Regions from separate parts of the Homo sapiens genome. Here all the other regions are linked to region 6. The links are contacts of gene promoters, found by promoter capture Hi-C in blood cells and fetal thymus (Javierre and others, 2016). All regions are on one chromosome and are shown on one strand. The core of a region is centred on a gene start or on the middle of the fragment in contact, and the rest is flanking DNA. Distances in the headings are between cores, read along the strand shown.

The links. Contacts are between HindIII fragments. The CHiCAGO score rates a contact against its expected background, and 5 or more counts as called.
Region 1: a contact is called between a fragment that was not itself captured here and the fragment with the promoter of PSMD5 in region 6, in 8 of 17 cell types (non-activated CD4 T cells, naive CD8 T cells, total CD4 T cells and 5 more). The highest score is 8.8, in non-activated CD4 T cells.
Region 2: a contact is called between a fragment that was not itself captured here and the fragment with the promoter of PSMD5 in region 6, in 5 of 17 cell types (naive CD4 T cells, non-activated CD4 T cells, total CD8 T cells and 2 more). The highest score is 8.9, in naive CD4 T cells.
Region 3: a contact is called between a fragment that was not itself captured here and the fragment with the promoter of PSMD5 in region 6, in 1 of 17 cell types (total CD4 T cells). The highest score is 5.0, in total CD4 T cells.
Region 4: a contact is called between a fragment that was not itself captured here and the fragment with the promoter of PSMD5 in region 6, in 9 of 17 cell types (naive CD4 T cells, naive CD8 T cells, total CD4 T cells and 6 more). The highest score is 11.2, in naive CD4 T cells.
Region 5: a fragment that was not itself captured here is called in contact with the fragment with the promoter of PSMD5 in region 6 in 3 of 17 cell types (naive CD8 T cells, total CD4 T cells and total B cells); the score reaches 6.7 in naive CD8 T cells.

The regions. Positions count from the first base shown.
Region 1 is chr9:120,971,188-120,974,251 of GRCh38, forward strand. It overlaps C5 (complement C5), which reads right to left. Exons shown (of 41, transcript NM_001735.3): 31 at 743-805. Among named protein-coding and RNA genes, the nearest start is that of C5-OT1, 20 kb to the left of the region's middle. The HindIII fragment of the contact is 5,007 bases long and covers 1-3,064 here.
Region 2 is chr9:121,094,778-121,097,890 of GRCh38, forward strand. CNTRL (centriolin) reads left to right here. Exons shown (of 44, transcript NM_007018.6): 5 at 111-241; 6 at 1,645-1,786. Among named protein-coding and RNA genes, the nearest start is that of CNTRL, 21 kb to the left of the region's middle. The HindIII fragment of the contact is 686 bases long and covers 997-1,682 here.
Region 3 is chr9:121,016,173-121,019,029 of GRCh38, forward strand. C5 (complement C5) reads right to left here. Exons shown (of 41, transcript NM_001735.3): 13 at 1,471-1,680; 14 at 1,190-1,339; 15 at 82-211. Among named protein-coding and RNA genes, the nearest start is that of C5, 33 kb to the right of the region's middle. The HindIII fragment of the contact is 7,296 bases long and covers 1-2,857 here.
Region 4 is chr9:120,988,925-120,992,014 of GRCh38, forward strand. It overlaps C5 (complement C5), which reads right to left. Exons shown (of 41, transcript NM_001735.3): 23 at 2,267-2,356; 24 at 644-856; 25 at 122-197. Among named protein-coding and RNA genes, the nearest start is that of C5-OT1, 38 kb to the left of the region's middle. The HindIII fragment of the contact is 2,287 bases long and covers 283-2,569 here.
Region 5 is chr9:121,032,417-121,035,354 of GRCh38, forward strand. C5 (complement C5) reads right to left here. Exons shown (of 41, transcript NM_001735.3): 5 at 2,387-2,478. Among named protein-coding and RNA genes, the nearest start is that of C5, 16 kb to the right of the region's middle. The HindIII fragment of the contact is 2,707 bases long and covers 176-2,882 here.
Region 6 is chr9:120,841,077-120,844,204 of GRCh38, forward strand. PSMD5 (proteasome 26S subunit, non-ATPase 5) reads right to left here and starts at 1,846. Exons shown (of 10, transcript NM_005047.4): 1 at 1,661-1,846. The coding sequence starts at 1,833. It also overlaps the pseudogene CUTALP. RefSeq lists enhancers at 1,467-1,996, 1,568-1,867, 1,755-2,049, 1,815-2,109, 2,068-2,417 and 1 more. The HindIII fragment of the contact is 10,742 bases long and covers 1-3,128 here.

The DNA.
Region 1 (3,064 bases), core at 548-3,047, 130 kb after region 6:
AGAAAAAAAATTGCAACTGCCAAGTGGCTAAAATGAAGAAATAAGTCTTTATGAATAACACATAAATCCCCCAAAATCCTGGATAAATGAGATGGGATAGAAAACATATATATATACAATGCACATATGTACACAGATATATGTATATACACATATGCCATATGCGTATACACATATATAATCATAAAATTATATATCTCTATAAATATATATAATTTCTATAAGTATACAGAATGTATACATATAAGGATTAAATTTTTTTGTGTGTGTGAGACGGAGTCTTGCTCTGTTGCCAGGCTGCAGTGCAGTTGTGCCATCTCGGCTCACTGCAACCTCTGCCTCCCAGGTTCAAGTGATTCTCCTGCCTCAGCCTCTGAGTAGCTGGGAATACAGGCGCACGCCACCATGCCCGGCTAATTTTTTGTATTTTTAGTACAGACGGGGTTTCACCGTGTTAGCCAGGGTGGTCTTGATCTCCTGACCTCGTGGTCTGCCCGCCTAGGCCTCCCAAAGTGCTGGGATTAAAGGCGTGAGCCACCATGCCTGACCAACATTGTTATTTTCAAAAAAATTGTGAGGATAGTTACAAAGATTGCTAGAAAGATTTACATAAGTGAATCCCACTTTAGTCATGGTTACCCAAGCCCAGATTTCTGTGACTTTGTGGCAAAGCTCCTAACTTTTATGTTACCTAGTACAAATGGACACATAACTCGTTATTGGATATCAATTAAATACTTACATGTACTGTAGCCAAGCCACTGCCAAATCCTGTACTGACAATGAGGTCATCATTGAGAAGCACCTGGAAAGATAATAGAGAAACAAACCATGCTTTCTTTCATCATTTGATAGGGAGGGAGGATAGAGCTATGAAAAGTGGGTTGACATGTACCAGCCTCCTCTCTCAGAGCTCTTCTGAGAGTAACTGGATGAGACACTGAAAATCCTATGCCCATGGCAGGTGCTAAACAAGGCTGGTATTTCCCCTTTCCCTTCTACATGTAAATAAGATGTCTGAGATCTCCTGAGTGAACCAACAAAAGCAACATGTCAGAGGTCACTTCTGGTTACATTTTCATTTACATATGGCTATGGTAAATCTGGATCTTCATCTCCTTTTGCCAACTGAATAAATTCCTTTCTGTGCCTAGCTCAGGAATCAGCATCCTGTGTGCCAATGGAGATCGTTTTCATTAGAACCCAGAGCAGGGAACCTCCACATAACTTGAAAGCGGGTGCATCTATCTTTGGTCCTCTCTGAGCTCCTCCTTTGCACCCCTTTTCCATCTCTTGATGATTTATCTTTTCCACTTGTCACCGCCTTTGTTTGCAGAAACCCCTGGTACCCCACCCCAAACCACTAGCACCCCACTCAAGCCTGCCAAATCCTTAGTTGCTGCTGCTCTTCTTCCCACTCTGCTAGGAGGAAACTGAAGACATAAACGGAGTTAAGTCATTCTCCTCTCCAGAGAAACTCTGTCATCCAAATGCTCCCTAATTTGTGGAAAGTACAGGAGAGATAATTTTGAGCCCGAGGGGTTGGCACTTCCTTTACTCCAAGCCTCCCCTTTCCTTTGCTTAGCACAATAATGCAAGATGGATTGGGCATATGTTAAAGTTTCTCAATCCTTCCTTCAAATTTTAGTAAATGTAGGAAAGTAGGTCAACATTCTTGTTCTCCCTGATAGAATATAGCAGCATTTGTTGGAAAACAGGTGTCTTGAGATACTGCATGTGAAAAGCATGCATGACAAATAAGTTTGGGAAATGCTGTGCACTGTGCCCTGCCTCTGCCCCTTTTCACACCCAGAGTCACCACACTTAATCACATACATGTTACAGAACAGGGGAATTCTGGATTAAAGAACTTGTTTAACTTAATTTAAATTAATTTGTTTAACTTAATTAATGCACACTCAACCACCTAACACTCTTTCATGGAACACATTTCAGGAAATGCTGGAGTAGAAAATTCCACACTGGATAATAACAGCCCAGGTTTTACATGGAAGCAGCATCCTGGGCTGGGGTTTAAATTTTGTTAGGATGACAAGAGGCCTCTTACAGCATTATCCCTATAGAGAAGAATAATTTCAGCTACCTCAGGTAGCTGGAAGGTCAAGAGATCCTTCTTAGAGCTTAGACTCAGAACATGAATCTCCGGTGAACTCTAAATGATCCCAGGGAAAGGAGACATATTCCCAAACTAGGGACCACAAGCACAAATGCCTGCAGAGGCCCGGGCACAAAGCAGGTATGAACATAAATGCACATGCATACGTCCTGTGACTGGTGGGGACTGCAGTAAATTGTAGAAGCCATGCCAATGCCTGGTGCTTTGCTTTCAGGTCTTTTGGTTTATCAAGGGAAGTTGGGAATCAGGTTTTTATTTGAAATATCTGGATCCTTAAATGTTGGCATATATCTATGTCTATGTTTATATCCATATTCTTTTTTTTCAGTATGGGCCACCAGTTTGCAATTTTTGCATTAAATTTTATTTCTCTGCTGGGCATGGTGGCTCACACCTGTAATCCCAGCACTTTGGGAGGCCAAGGTGGGTGGATCACCAGAGGTCAGGAGTTTGAGACCAGCCTGGCCAAATGGTGAAACCCCATATCTACCAAAAATACAAAAAATGAGCCAGGTGTGGTGGCAGGCGCCTATAATCCCGCCTGCTTTGGAGGCTGAGGCAGGAGAATTGCTTGAACCCAGGAGGTTGCAGTGAGCCGAGGTTGCGCCATTGCACTCCAGCCTGGGCAACAAGAGCGAAACTCCATCTCAAAAAAAAAAAATTATTTCTCATGCTTGTTTACTTTTAACAAACACCAATTTGTGAAGGATGTCAACAATGAGGATTATTTCCAATTACTGTACATTTAAATATACTTTAAAATAATGCAAACACAGTAATTAGAAAAATATGTATCAGCAGCTATATGTGGGCAGCTAATATTAATATAGAACCCAGTTTTTCCAACATGTCTTGTTCTTTGTGAAATTTTCATAAGCCATCAAAGTTACCACCTTTAAAAATCCAGCAGTAGCAAAGGACATGGGG
Region 2 (3,113 bases), core at 90-2,589, 250 kb after region 6:
TATTATTTTCTGATGACTGATCAAACAGACCCTGATGCACATAAGTAAATGTTGTACTTTATGTCAAGTCATCTGTTGTGTAAAGTATTCATTCATTTGTTTCCAATTAGTATATTGAGAATTTGGAAAAATGTGTTAAACTTGAAGTACTGAATCTCAGCTATAATCTAATAGGGAAGATTGAAAAGTTGGACAAGCTGTTAAAATTACGTGAACTCAACTTATCATATAACAAAATCAGGTGAGTTATATAACAAAATCTTTAGGCAGCATTGCAGATAGCTTTGTTAGAGAGGTAGATTAATGTTATCCACATTACTGAAAGAATGATTTGACAGAAACAGAAGATATTTTTATCTTTATTCATCAATCAAATGAATGTCTGTCTCTTCACATATGGTAGGTAACTGTCTTTATGTTTTGGCATTACTGAAGTACAGAATAACATCTAGCATTATCAAAGAGATATATTTTTGAGCACCAAATTGTATCTTAATTTCATTTCTGACAGGAAGTTTTCCCAGATATTGTCTGTGATTTATTACCTTATTACATTAAGAATGTTGACATGAAGCAGAATGTTTTAACCCTGCCATTTTGACCCCCAAGATGTTCTAATCTGTTTTGATTCTGATGTTCTTTGCTTATTGCTACAAGAAATATGCTCTCAATCCTGTTTCCAATTCATAATATATATTACTGTGAGAAATAAACATACTAAAACTGACACTGGCTAAAACTTCATATAGAAAACTTGTTATAGACAAAATGATACAAGAATCAAATCTTGAAATTCTTAATATCTGCATGCTTTTCCCCCAAGTTAGACTTGGTAAATATGATGGCCAAGAAAATGACTAGCAATGGCAGAAGTTCTGATATGACAAAACTGAAATGAAAAAAAATGATTAATGAACCAAACCCTTATTATAAAATTTGTATAAAAAGTTGACTCTGATGAAAATATTTTCAGCAAAATAAAATTGAAAGTAGAGAAGCTTAGAAATATTTACCCAGTGTAGATAGAGGCTTTGAAGTATTTGTGCAGTATAGAAAATTGACCAAAGAATTAAATTGACAAATAAATTAGAAGTGACTTGGGAAAAACCTTCATCAATCAGAATTCATTAATATGTGTGATAAATGCTTTATTTAAAAGTTCTGGTTAAATTACTTATATTCCTAAATACAGTATCATCTATGGGCTCCCATATCCTGCTGGCATAGCTAATCTTTTTATGATAACTTAAGACAATAATTAGGAACATCTTTTGGACAGGAATGTAGCAGATAGGACAGGGTGCTATTGAGTTTCCCAGGTCTCCACTGGCTGTTTGCTAGTACTGTTCACAGTAGTCGGTGAGAATGCCATGGTCACATTTTTCTTTTCTATGTTATGGAGTTGCAAAGTCTAATAATAAGATTGATAGGATTCCTGGGCATAGTAATAAAAAGTTGGCAGTTTAGCTGTTCTGGTAAATTTGGCTTTAGCCACTTTTCTTTGTTCTCATTTATGAAAAGAGTTGATAAATTATCATTATGAAAAGTAATCTAACATGGAGCTAAAGCTGTTTATTCTAAAAATACAATGGAGAGACTCTATAATTGTACTCACTAAATTTTATTTTATCCTTTGCTTTCCAGCAAAATTGAAGGCATAGAAAATATGTGTAATCTGCAAAAGCTTAACCTTGCAGGAAATGAAATTGAGCATATTCCAGTATGGTTAGGGAAGAAGTTAAAATCTTTGCGAGTCCTCAATTTGAAAGGCAACAAGATATCATCGGTAAGTTATTCAAAATAGCAGGAATTTTTAGACTTGTTAAAAAATAAAAGATTAAAAATATCTAAGTTTTTTAAAAATGGGATTTCTTCTTTTAAAGATTTTGCTCCTTTGACTAAACACTAGATTCAGACATAGCCCATGATTTTCTAGATTAATTAAATACAAGCAGTCCTCATTTTGCATGGGTTCCTAGGTCAACCTAGGGTTGACCTCTTAGCATTTTTACATTTATCATTTCATGTAAGCCTCATAACATTCTTGTTAAGAAGGCAGTACAAGGATTATTTTTGTAACACTATGAGTTAGGTAGTAGCAAGTAAGGTCTAGGACAGGTTAAGTCCCTTATCTAGAGTCACATTTTGTGCCAGGATCCAGATCACTGAATGCCTAGAAGAAAGTTCTGGGTTTTTTTTTTTTTGACAGTATTAACTTCCAATTTCAAATTTACCAGTTTATTTTGATTATAATGTTAGGTGTTATAGGAGGTTGATCACTAGCTTTTCATAATAGAGCAACTTTGTTATGATTTACATATTTGGATGATGTTGTATATTTTTCTCTGGAATATAGTTTATGATTTTCTTATGGTATTTATTCACAGCTAGGTATTTAATAAGCATTTGCTTAGTAAATTTGTTAATTTATTTAAATTTGTATTAAAATTGGGAAAATTGTGCCATAATTTAATGAACATCAGTTGTAGAATAGAAAATGAAAGATGTGACTTCAAAGATGGGCCTCTATAGAATTGCCTTCCATGACCTTGGAGAATTCTTTAATCCCTCTAAAACCACTGTTTGGGGAAAACAATCCCTATACTGCCTCCTTTACAGGGGTATTATGGGGGCTCAGATGAAATGATAGATGTGAAAATGCTTTAAAAAAAACTTTAAAACACTAAATAAGTCTAAAGCTATATTCTTTAAGCCTTCACCAGTGGAGGCCAATAATAATAAGCAATATTCATTTAATGCCATGTTGTTAACAATACCTATGCTTTCTAATTTCATCCTGTGACAGTCAAGAGCCTCAGAGCCCAAGCCCAACCCCATGTTGTACAGCATCACCTTGGGGCTGTTGATGCTATGGGATGATGGGAAGAGGTAGCCATAGATCTAAAATTTGCCATAAATATTCCTGAAGTAGTTGATCCTTAGATAGTGTCAACTTAGTGTCAGCTGTGCAATAGGAAAATCAATAAATATTTATTTCTAATTTTGTATGATGTCCTCACCCCATTGATATTTGACATTGGCATTATGAAGAGTGCTGCACATTCACTTGGGAGAGAAGATTTATTTGTACTAGCTATTTGGAGTACTGTTTC
Region 3 (2,857 bases), core at 175-2,674, 170 kb after region 6:
TTTGGGAAGAAGGATAAAAATGAGATCTGGGGGGCAAATGATCAATGGGATTTTCAGTAATAAACATGCTGAGCATTTTACCATTTTCTTGGGAGTCATCTGCATTTGCATTAGTGAGGAAGGTAAGTCCAGCTAGGTGGAACACATTGGCATTGTTGAGGCCACCACCTGCCCCACAGCCCAGATCACTCTTCTCTAAGAATTGAAATACCTGTCCAGAAAGGCAAAATGTTGAGCACATTGAGATGTATAAATCATTCCTCTAAAGATCTAAAAGGTACTAATTGTTACATGGTTATCACAAACCAGTGAAATACACAGATGATATTTTTCAAATGATCAAAGACAAAATTTCCCAACTTTGTTTCTAAGTTTGTCCTTTTGTATTTATAAATACATAACTATTCAAAGTTAAATCAAGAACTAAGTCTTAAACAAATAGCTTTGATGAGGAGTTTCTTAGAAACTGATATATAGTGTTTTGTACATAGAATGAATGCTGCAATCAATATAATGTTCCAAATAAATAAATAAATAGGTATGAATGCATGAAGGACTGAATTAACATAGAAATTAATTTTAAGTTGCTTTAAAAGCACAACTTTGTGCATTTTGGTGGGGAGGTCCCTAGGTTCTAAATGGCTGAAGACTTGTTTGGACAGGCTTATTCGTTCTCCGAGTATTTTTTAATTTTACAGTTTCTCAGTCCTTCCTTCCTTGTTCAAAGACATTCAAGCCTCGAAAATAATAGCTGAACATAATAAGATAAATAGGAACTTATGAGAATTGAATGATTTTGAGATTCTTCTGTGCTATGGATTTCAATGAGAATTTAAAAAAAATCCAAATGTTACCTATACAGGTCTTTCCTGTGCTGCTACTAGCTACTATAACTGCCATCAACACCCTACCCTAAACCTCCAAAGTATTCTGATAGTAATTTTTCCTCCATGAATGTAATTGCTACCATGATCATATATTCTTAAAGTGCTTACATTTACATTTGAAAAACAAAAGAGGATTGACCTGTGCTTTGGGAGCTGACAGGAGGATGGTTTACCTTCCTAAAAATGAGTATGTTGAGTAGATTACAGAAAAGCAGGCCTAGTCTTCCCTTAGTTCTTCCTCCATATCCTAGCCTGGTGGCCACACTTCATGCAACACTGCAGCGAGACATGCATTACTTAACTCTTTCCAAGGGCTTTTTGGCTCCTCTTTGGACTCCATACACAGCACTGTCCACTGCTGCTAATGCCACCCAGGAATCCATTCCAGTTGCCATATTAAGAGACACAGTTTGGCCTGGAGAATATGCATCTGCATCAGGAGACAGATGAACCTAAAAGTTCATTTGAAAAAGAAAAGAAAAGATCATTTGTATGAGACAAGACTTTTCAGAAGCAGCTAAAACTTTGGCAGCCTCCTTCATTGAAAAGAAAATTCAATTGTGACTTATAATTTGTGGCTTACCTGGAGCTGGTTGCCACATTTTTCTTCAATATTTAACCAGACTGAATCAGACACTAATTCTGCTGTCTGTTCTCCTGTGACGATGTAATAGACCAGAAGTCGGGATGAAGGAACCATGTTCTGTGTTACTGGAATGTTTATACTTTGATAAGATGCATCTGAAAATTTCTCCCTCGTGCCAAAGTGGATAATTTTGCCCTTGGATAAAATCTAAAAATAAACAGCAGCAGCAACAATAAGTAAAAAATAAACAAACAAAAACAAAACCTGTGCTTTAGGATGCAGCCTGGAGCTGGAGCAGAAATTATGTTAAAGAAAAATAAAGTTAGGCTGGGCACAGTGGCTCACACCTGTAATCCTAGCACTTTGGGAGGCCGAGGTGGGCCGATCACTTGAGGCCAGGAGTTCAAGACCAGCCTGGCCAACATAGTGAAACACCATCTCTACTAAAAATACAAAAGTTAGCCAGGCATGGTGGTGCATGACTGTAATCACACCTACTCGGGAGGCTGAGGCATGAGAATTACTGGAGCCCGAGAGGTGAAGTTTGCAGTGAGCTGAGATCATGCCACTGCACTCCAGCCTGTGCAACAGAGCAAGACTCTGTCTCAAAAAAAAAAAAAAAAAAAAAAAAAGACATACCAATTTTGGCTGGGCACGGTGGCTCACACCTGTAATCCCAGAAGTTTGGGAGGCCAAGGCAGGCAGATCACCTGAGGTCAGGAGTTTGAGACCTGCCTGGCCAACATGGTGAAACCCTGGCTCTACTAAAAATAAAAAAATTAGCCGGGCACTGTGGTGGGCATATGTAATCCCAGCTACTCGGAAGGCTGAGGCAGGAGAATTGCTTGAACTTGGGAGGCAGAGGTTGCAGTGAGTCGAAATCATGCCACTGCACTCCAGCTTGGGGGACAGAGTGAGACTCCACCAAAAAGAAAGGAAGGAAGGAAGGAAGGAAGGAAGGAAGGAAGGAAGGCAAGAAAGAAGGGAGGGAGGGAGGGAGGGAAAGAAAGAAAGAAGGAAGGAAGGAAGGAAAGAAGGGAGGGAGGGAGGGAAAGAAAGAAAGAAAAGAAAGAAAGAAAGAAGGAAGGAAGGAAGGAAAGGAAGGAAGGAAGGAAGGAAGGAAGGAAGGAAGGAAGGAAGGAAGGAAGGAAGGAAGAAAGAGTGAGTTAACGTTTATGGGCCTACTATGTGCCAGGAACTTTAACATGTATTTAACTCCTTTCATTCTCACAATACATCAATAAGAGGAATATTATTCTCCTCATTTAAGAAACTGAGGCTCAGAAACTAAAAGTCATACTGATTTTAATTCAAAATCACACAACTAGTAAATTAGAGAGCTAAAATTTGAACCCAAAAACTGTTCAAAGTCATCACACTGTCA
Region 4 (3,090 bases), core at 176-2,675, 150 kb after region 6:
GGAGTGAAGGATGACGAGGCTTTTAGCCTGAGCAACTGGAGGAATGGAGTTTCCATTATGGTTATTATTCTTTAGTTAATTAACCACTATATGAAAATGCAACTCAAAATCTTCTACTTACCAAGTGCTAGCACTTCCACCCTTCCACACACTGTAAGAGTAGTCAGCATTTCTGTAGGACATAATGCTCAACATCCCTAAGAAGCACAAGAAAAAGAACACGGTGCTTAACAGACCTCCGTTTCTACTCAAAGAACACTTTATCAGGCCCTGAGAATGGTAAGCTTCCTTTGGTGTTGGGCAGCAAGCATATGCTCTGTGGCCAGCATTGAACTTCTCAAAGGAAGTATATGAATTGCTCGAATTGGGAATTATCAAGTAGAACATTCTGATCTCATTCGAAAAGGAAGGAAGTGTTCTGTAGTTTGGAATGCAGGTGCCTTGCCTCTCATTCAGGCATTTTGGTAAGTTGAGCCAAAATGCTACAGAAATAATATTTATTTATATAGTAGAGTCCATCTCATGATTTTTTTGCTAAAATTCTCTTACAAAGTTTTCTATAATTCACAACTTAAATATTAGTTTAATAAAAATATTAGTTTAGAATCACCCAATTTTTATGTGAAATACTTTTTTTTTTTACCTTCTTTTAATTTTTTCTTCAGTTTCTGCTTTTCAATTAATGGGTCAGAATGAAAAATGTTCCAATGATTTCCTGTTTCCAGGTAGTGAAAAACATAGAATACTGGGACAACGCTCATCAGCTCCGCCTCTGCACTCCCTTTGGGGAGGTGGGTTAGGATATTGATGCCTTCCTGACTTAGAACTGCAGACAAGATCTCACCTACAAGCAGTCCTGAAACAAAAAAGATCAAAGTAGACACATTGCTTTTTATTAACTTCTAACAGTATGTTCTCAAGAGAGAAGAACAACCATCTAGAGATGGTTCTTCCCTTTTTATCTAGGCAGTTGACTTGCTTCTCAGAAACGGGGTGAGAAAAAAAGATCCGGTTAGGAACATGAATTTGAAAGAAACAAAAAAAAAAAAGACTTTAAAAATCACTAAAATATGGTGGTAGGTAATGTAATACAGTGGACTGATTGCTGCAAGAGAACATGGCAAATTAGTTGCCATTCAACCTGTTAGCTTTAGACATTATAAACCATATTTACCAATCCCTTCCAGGAAGCAAAGCAAAGAGCCTGAACAGGGAGTGCTGACATGACTGTCTATAATTCACTGTGCAACCTTGGACATGCCACTTTCTTTTATATCCAACAGCAGGGTTGCACATGATCAAAAAGATCCTTTCCAGTACTAACATTTTGTGATTCTAGGGTTTTATCTGAGATAAAATGTAGTCAGGACATTCTATCATTCGGTAATATGTTATTGAATTGTAAAGCCTGGAGACTAAGGAAAACCTAGTCACTTGTGCAAATATCACTTCTGCAAATGTATGCGAGGGGAGGAGAATCCCTGCTATGGTTTGAATGTATATGTCTCTCCAAAATTCATACACTGAAGCCTAATCACCAAGGTGATAGTATTAGAAGGTGGGGCTTTTTGAGAGGTGATTAGGTTATGATGGCTCCACCCTAATGAGTGGGATTAATAATCTTATAGACGAGGTAAGAGGAAGTTCTTCACCCCTTTTTGCCCTTTTGCCTTTCCACTTTCTGCCACAGGAGGATACAGCAACATATATCCTCATGGAAACAGAGAGCAGCCCTTGCCAAACACCCAATCTCTTGATGCCTTGATCTTGGACTTCCCAGCCTCCAGAACTGTGAGAAATAAATTTGTATTATTTATAAATTTTGTTATTTTGTTATGGCAGCATAAATGGACTAAGACAACCCTTCTGGGACCAGTACTTCAGCAGAGCAGTGCTGTTCTCGCTAGGCCATGTGCAGGCCATAGGCCTTCTCTGGAGCGGGACTGGCCACTAAGACCATGGAAAGTTCTTTAAGTCTAGAAGCAACTGGACCCCCATTTTAGAGACATCTTTGAGCCAATGACAGTCCCTACCTTCCATTGGAGGAGAATGCATCTCCATGTAAATCAGGCCGTTGGAAGAAGATAGTGGGAAAAGTGATTAAAGGTTTGAAAGTGGGGGTGGGTAGGGGTGGAGCACTCCTAAAGGTAGATTTGTGTGTGCTACTGAACACGGAAGTGGAGAAACAGAATAATCATGAGGATATTTGATTTTTGTTTGAAGCACCAAGTGAAATGAGAAATAAAAATGGCATTTGTTAATTTACCTTTTACACTCAAAATCCTTTTGATTTCTGTTTTGGGGACCAAATCTAAGGGTATCCTGTATGGGAACTCCTTTCGTCTGCTAATGGTACCTGTAATTTAGAAAATTTGGATTTATACAGAGTTTCCAGGGGAAGACTGTTTGCAGATTATTTATAATGTATCTACTTCCAAAGAATATTTCAAAATAAAAGACTTATAATTAGACTATTAAAATTTTAAAAGAAAGTTAAAAATCATCAAGGACTTTAATCAAACCCTAGGCTTGTATAATCTTATTAAATAAAGCATTAAATTTGGCTGTAAGCTTCCTGGTCATTATAAGATGTGAAATAAATAGGTTATATAAATCTTATTCACCAGCAAAATATAGCATGCCAGCTTGCCCAAAGACAGAAAATTGTTCCTGGAACTGAAAGCTAAGAATAACTAACATGTAATTTCTTAATCAACTATATATTGAACATTAGCTCCACAGGGAAGTATGATCTGAAATTCTTTCCACCTTCCCTTCCCAGTCTAGTTTTGATACTTTTTAATCTATGGGCAAAACAACAGAGTTTTAGCATACTGGTATCAGATAATTTTTCTACTGTGATCACTGGTTTATGTCCAAAAAAAGGTAACATTGATCATTCTACTGATAGAGTACCAAGCATGCTACTAAGTTCTTTAAATGAATTATTGCATTGGATTCTCACAACAGTCCTCTATGTTAGGTCTATTTTCATTAGTTTAATTTTATAGATGAGGAAATTGAGGCTTAGAAAGTAACGTGTTCAAGGTCCCAGAAACAATACAAGTGGAGCTGCAATCTGAACTCCAG
Region 5 (2,938 bases), core at 279-2,778, 190 kb after region 6:
TGTATTATTTTTCCTGGTATTTTATCTTAATACAGTCATTAGTTTTGATTTGAAGAACTTATTATTTCTGAGAATTTATTTAATCTTGGAGCCTAATTATGCTAACATAATACTAAAATCCAAAATACAGTACAAAATCCATAATAACGTCTCTAGAAACATATAATACAAGACAAGCTTATACAGATGATAAAATTTACACCTCACAAAAATGAATTTATGGTTGGAAACAAAGCATGGTTTTTAAAAGATGAAAATGACCTGGCTTTAATTAATAACCTTTATTCAAAAACATATACTAGGCCAGGTATAGTGGCTCATGCCTATAATCCCAGCACTTTGGGAGGCCAAGGCAGGAGGATCGCTTGAGCCCAGGAGTTCGAGACCAGCCCAGGCAACATGATGAAACCCCATCTCTACAAAAAAATACAAAAATTAGTCTGGTGTGGTGGTGCATGCTTGTAGTCCCAGCTACTTAGGAGGCTGAGGTGGGAGAATTGCTTGAGCCCGCGAGATCAAGGCTGTGGTGAGCTGAGATCACACCACTGCACTCCAGCCTGGGTGACAGAGTGAGACTCTGTTTCAAAAAAACTATGGGTGTGTGTGTGTGTGTGTGTGTGTGTATGTATGTATATATGTGTGTATACACACATATATATACACACACACACACATATATATACTGAGCCTACCTTGCAGATTGGCTATGAAGTCCACAAATGTTAATAGTATTATAATAATGATTATTACCATCATCATCAATTCAATGAATATTTATCAAGGGCCTATTATGTTGAACTGCTGGTGTGCAATACAGACAAGGCCCACCTTAAAGAGTTTATAAGCTAGTGGGGAATAAAAATGCCAGCAAGCAAGTAAAGAAATGATTATGACATTGAGATAAGTGTCATGAAGAAAATAAACAAGATGCTGAGATAGGGAGTAAAACAAAGCAAGAGATTACATTACATCATGCATCCAGGAATAGCCTTTTTGTAGTAGCTTCTACTCTGGGTCATAACAATGAAAAGAAGCCAGGCTTATGAAGAGCCAGGTGAAGCCCATTCCAAGTAGAGGGGATGACATGTGCAAAGGCACGGAGGTAGGAAAGCACTGGACATGCCAGACCATGGCTAGCACATAATTTGCCATGGGGCAAGTGGCACAAGATGAAGTTGGAGAAATGATAGCAGTAATAAAATAATAGGTTTAATTCTGCACTATGGAACATGTAGTATTTTCAAGAATGTACACAATTTTTAAATTATCCAAGTTATTTAAAACCTCCAAATTCAATTTAAATTTTTAGAAAAATTTCAGTCAGCGAATTAACTGAGGGCAGAGGAAAAATGACCATAAAAAGATGTTGTTCTAAAATTCTAGTGCAGCCATGTATAGATGCACTTGTCTTATTCATTCTGCTCTATTATAAATTTCTTTCTTTCTTTTCTTCCCTCCTTCCTTCCTCCCTCCCCTCCCTCTTTCTTTCCTTCCTTCCTTCCTTCCTTCTTCTTTCTATCTTAGTTGGAGTTTTGCTCCTGTTGCCCAACATGGAGTGCAGTGGCATGATCTTGGCTCACTTTAACCCTCACCTCCCAGATTCAAGCGATTCTCCTGCCTCAGCCTCCCGAGTAGCTGGGATTACAGGTGCCTGCCACCACGCCTGGCTTTTTTTGTATTTTTGATAGAGACGGGGTTTCACCATGTTGGCCAGGCTGGTCTCAAATTCCTGACCTCAGGTGATCCACCGACATTGGCCTCCCAAAGCGTTGGGATTACAGGCATGAGCCACCGCACCTGGCCTATTACAAATTTCTTGAAAGCAGGGACTGTGGATTATTTATTTTGTATCTCTCCCTCTTATTGTGATTTGCACATACCAAGAATGTGTTCATTGAATATTTATTACATTGAACCCTGTTTAAACTTTTTCTTAAATCCTTTCATGTGAGGCCAAATAATAGATATAGCTCTGAGAACTCCTTCCCTCTTGGACTTTGCCTTCTGGTAGTTTATCCAGGCAAAAACTACAGACGACCCTATTTTATAGCAACCAGAGCAAGGAACAAGACCACACCAGCCTTTTAAACTGACAATCTATTAGATACTTTGAGGGGTAGGAGTTGATGTTTTTTATGACAAAAAAACCTGGGTACTATTTTTTCCTCTTCCCAATTTTTATTTCTATATGTAAAAAGAATGGCTGAGAAGTATTGGAAATTTTTTGCCAAGAACAGAGCTTAAGTTCTTGCTAGAACTTCAAAAGATTTTGCATATCCACCTATGTGACACCCTTTGTTAACATTAGGTGGCCCCCTTTAACTGGTTACCTGCTTCTTCACCAAAAGTTCCGTATGTGGTTTTATTAACAACTATTTTTACATACCTAGGATTAGACGGAATCTTGAAGTCAGGAAAAGAGATAATTCCAATATGATCAATTTCTTCTACCATGTCAACTTCTGATCCTTCAGGATCCTGTAAATAAAAACAAACACCCTCAAAGGCCAGAAACTACATTTTAAAAAATTTAACTGATTATACAATCTTTGATGTACAAAATATTTATAGATCAAATATTTGAAGACAAATACCCATGTCTTCAAATTAAATATGAAGGATGAAGATCTGTTAAATGTTATAGAAGGGAAATATGGTTCATTTCAGCCATTTCCCTTCTTCTTTTTCCAATCTTCCCCATCTCTCCTCATTATCTTGAAGAGACTCAACTCTCGTTGTACATCTAAAAGATGAAGTGTAACAACACGTAAAAACAACAACAAACAAACAAACAAACAAACAATGATGTTTTTGATAAACTAAATGTGAATTTTGTTGGCTTTATAAACACCAGAATCTAATTTTTATATATGTTCATTTAAAGCTTTCAAAAGCAAATATTCTATGAATTATATTTTTTAGCCAGATGTTTTATAAA
Region 6 (3,128 bases), core at 596-3,095:
ACGGATGTGTAAAAAATCAAAAATAAAAGTTGTCCTACTATTTTCAGACCCACTTCCCTATTAATAGTTTCTGGTGTACCTTTGCAGATATTTGCAATGTTATACAAGTTTTACATGCCTGTGGGGGTTGGGAAGATTGTAATCCTTTTTAAAAATTACAGGTTAAAATTATAGATTGATATACCCTGCGATTTTCTTTTTCATTCAACAACACAGAGATTGGCCGGGCGCAGTGGCTCACGCCTGTAATCCCAGCACTTTGGGAGGCCGAGGCGGGCGGATCACGAGGTCCGTAGATCGAGACCATCCTGGCTAACATGGTGAAACCCCGTCTCTACTAAAAATACAAAAAATTAGCCGGGCGTGGTGGCGGGCGCCTGTAGTCCCAGGTACTCGGCAGGCTGAGGCAGGAGAATGGCGTGAATCAGGGAGGCGGAGGTTGCAGTGAGCCGAGATCGCGCCACTGCACTCCAACCTGGGAGACAGAGCGAGACTCGTCTGAAAACAAACAAACAAACAAAACAAAACAAAACAAAACACAGAGATCTTTCCATGTCCACATACATATATATACATCTACCTCAATAACTTAAATAACTGCACAGTGTTACAGAGTAATAGCGCATAATTTGGAATCCTCTGTTAACGGATATTTAGATTGTTTCTAGTGTTCTGGTGCCACACACGATATGTTATATTCTTGCATATAATGTTGTAGGGTCCTCCAGTCGCCCCCTTTCTTTCTCTGTCCTGATGGAAAATCAGAGTGCCTTGATTGCTCTCTGACCTAGCCAGCGGCAGGTTTCCCTAGCAGGCTTGACCATAAACCAGGGGCCTTGAACATTCACAGGCCTGATAAAGGTACCTAGGTTGTTGCCCAAAACACTGGAAGAAACTGGCCTCAACCCTGAGCCAAATTCCTTTAAACTCTCATCTGAACTCCATACCCTGACCCCCTCACTGCGGACATACCCAGGAACACCTTTCTCCCGGTGTCCGTCTTGACAATTTCTGCAGCCCTCTGCAGGTTTCCCCCTAAACGCTTTTGGACTGATCGCCTTGGCATTCAGTGCTTCTTTTTCTGTCATCCCAACCAGCCACATCTCGGGAAGGTTTGAAGCACTCCCTCGTGGGAACTCTCTTGCCGCTGCTTTTGGGGCGATTCCAGCCTCGGGTTCGAAAGAACAAAGTAACTGCACATTTTGTGCGCGTATACTTGCATTAAATTTTTTTAACAAGAATGACTGGATGAAAAAGCATGTGAATTTAAAATGCTGATGGTTCTTGCCACATTGCCAGGATAGGATCCTTTTAGAAGGGGAAACAAATCAAGAACCTGTACAAAGAGATGTGGAATGCTCCTTGTAAGTGGACAGCTTTGCTTTCCTCCTTTAATTTCTATTTGATGAAGAAGGCAGTGCCTCACTGCTCAGAGGCAGCGAGGCCAGGCGACGGGAGAAAACACCCTGGGGCACTCTCAGAGGCTGAACCTGAACCCCATCTCCTGCCTCTGAACCCAGGATCCTTCCTTCTCTGCAAATTTCGGCTACTTTCCACCTCCCCTGTGACTGGGAAAAGCGCTGTTCTTGCCCTCAACCACTCTCATGTCCATATTTAGGGGTGCCCCTCTCCTCGGCTCAAGCCCCCGGGGTCCTCTCACCTATGGTTCTCGTTAAGCAGGGAGAAGAGCGGGCCGAGGCGCAGCTCCGCCGCTTGCTGGCGAAGCTCGTTGAGCGGCACTGCCTGCAGCACGGAGTGAAGCGCGCGTAGCTCCTCCAGCGGCGCTTCCAGCCTCGCTACCTCTCTCAGCAGCGCCAAAGCCTGGGCTGCCATCTTGCCCCCCGACGCAGGGGCTGGCCCAGCGGCCCAGTTCCCGGGGCGCTTTCCTGAACCTCGCGAGATCTGATCACAGCCTCCTTGTCCCTGAGATGGCTATGGGGCTGCCAAGCCTCGCGAGAAGCCTCCGTTAGGGCCGTGTCAACTGTAGCCAGTGGTTGCGGCTCCCTCAGTCTGGCGTCATCTAGGTCGCTGCTCAGGGAAATGCGGAGGCCAGTAGGCTTACGTGTTTACCGCGTAGGGCAAAGCCTTGCCAAATTCCCGGCCAGCGGAGCGGCGAGGGTGGGGACTCACGGGAAGTTAAACAGCCTCGTCGGCGTCCTCGAGGCTCCAAAACCAGGCTCTAGGCGGGGACGACTGCAGCCGTTATGGAGGCCACCGCGGCTACGGCCGCGGCTGAGGCCTCCCCAGGTGGAGCGGTGGCCTGGAGGGGAATCTTGATCCTGGGCCAGCCACCTGTCAAGAGGAGGCGGAGCGTCATGCCTCTGGAAGACTGGATGAATATTCTCCAGGAGCCTGACGAAGGCGTGAGTAATAGGGACGTGCGCCGCCTTGTTGGTGTTGATCAGTCCACCAAGGAGAAGCAGCTGGTCGCAGTGGCCGTACCTGTAATCCCAGCGCTTTGGGAGGCCGCGGCGGGAGGATCGCTTGAGCCCGGGAGTTCGAGACCAGCCTGGGCAACATAGTGAGAAACCCGTCTCTACCAAAAAGAAAAAAAAAAAAAAAGGAAAAAAATTAGTGCGGTGTGGTGGCACGCACCTGTAGTCCCAGCTACTCGGGAGGCTGAAGCGGGAGGGTCCCCTAAGTCTAGGAGGTCGAGGCTTCAGTGAGCGGTGATTGTGCCACTGCACTCCAGCCTGGGCGACAGAGCAAGACCCTGCTTTCCCCTCTTGTCCTCCACTACCCTCAGGAAACCAAGAAAGACCAGCGTGGAGAGTTGGTCGCCCATCTGCTCTAAGCTGCTGTGTATTCCCCTGTAATGTAAACATCGTGAAGGTGGAGACCCAGTTAACCTTTTAGGTGGAAGGCCAGATGACAGAGGGCGGCATCTGACCCGGAAGGCCCTCTGCAACCAGGCCAAATACATCTACAGGGAACCAATGGGAAACATCTGGGGAGGACAACCCAAATAAGTATCATGCGAGCAAGGGATGGTTTGAGAACTTTAAAAATCGCTGCTGTTTTGCAACATACGAAGTTGATGGGGAGGAAGGACCCTTAAATCCTGAGTGGGTATCGAGTATTCCAAGCAACTGGAGAGAGGCTTTGTGCCTCAACAGGTCTTCAACGCC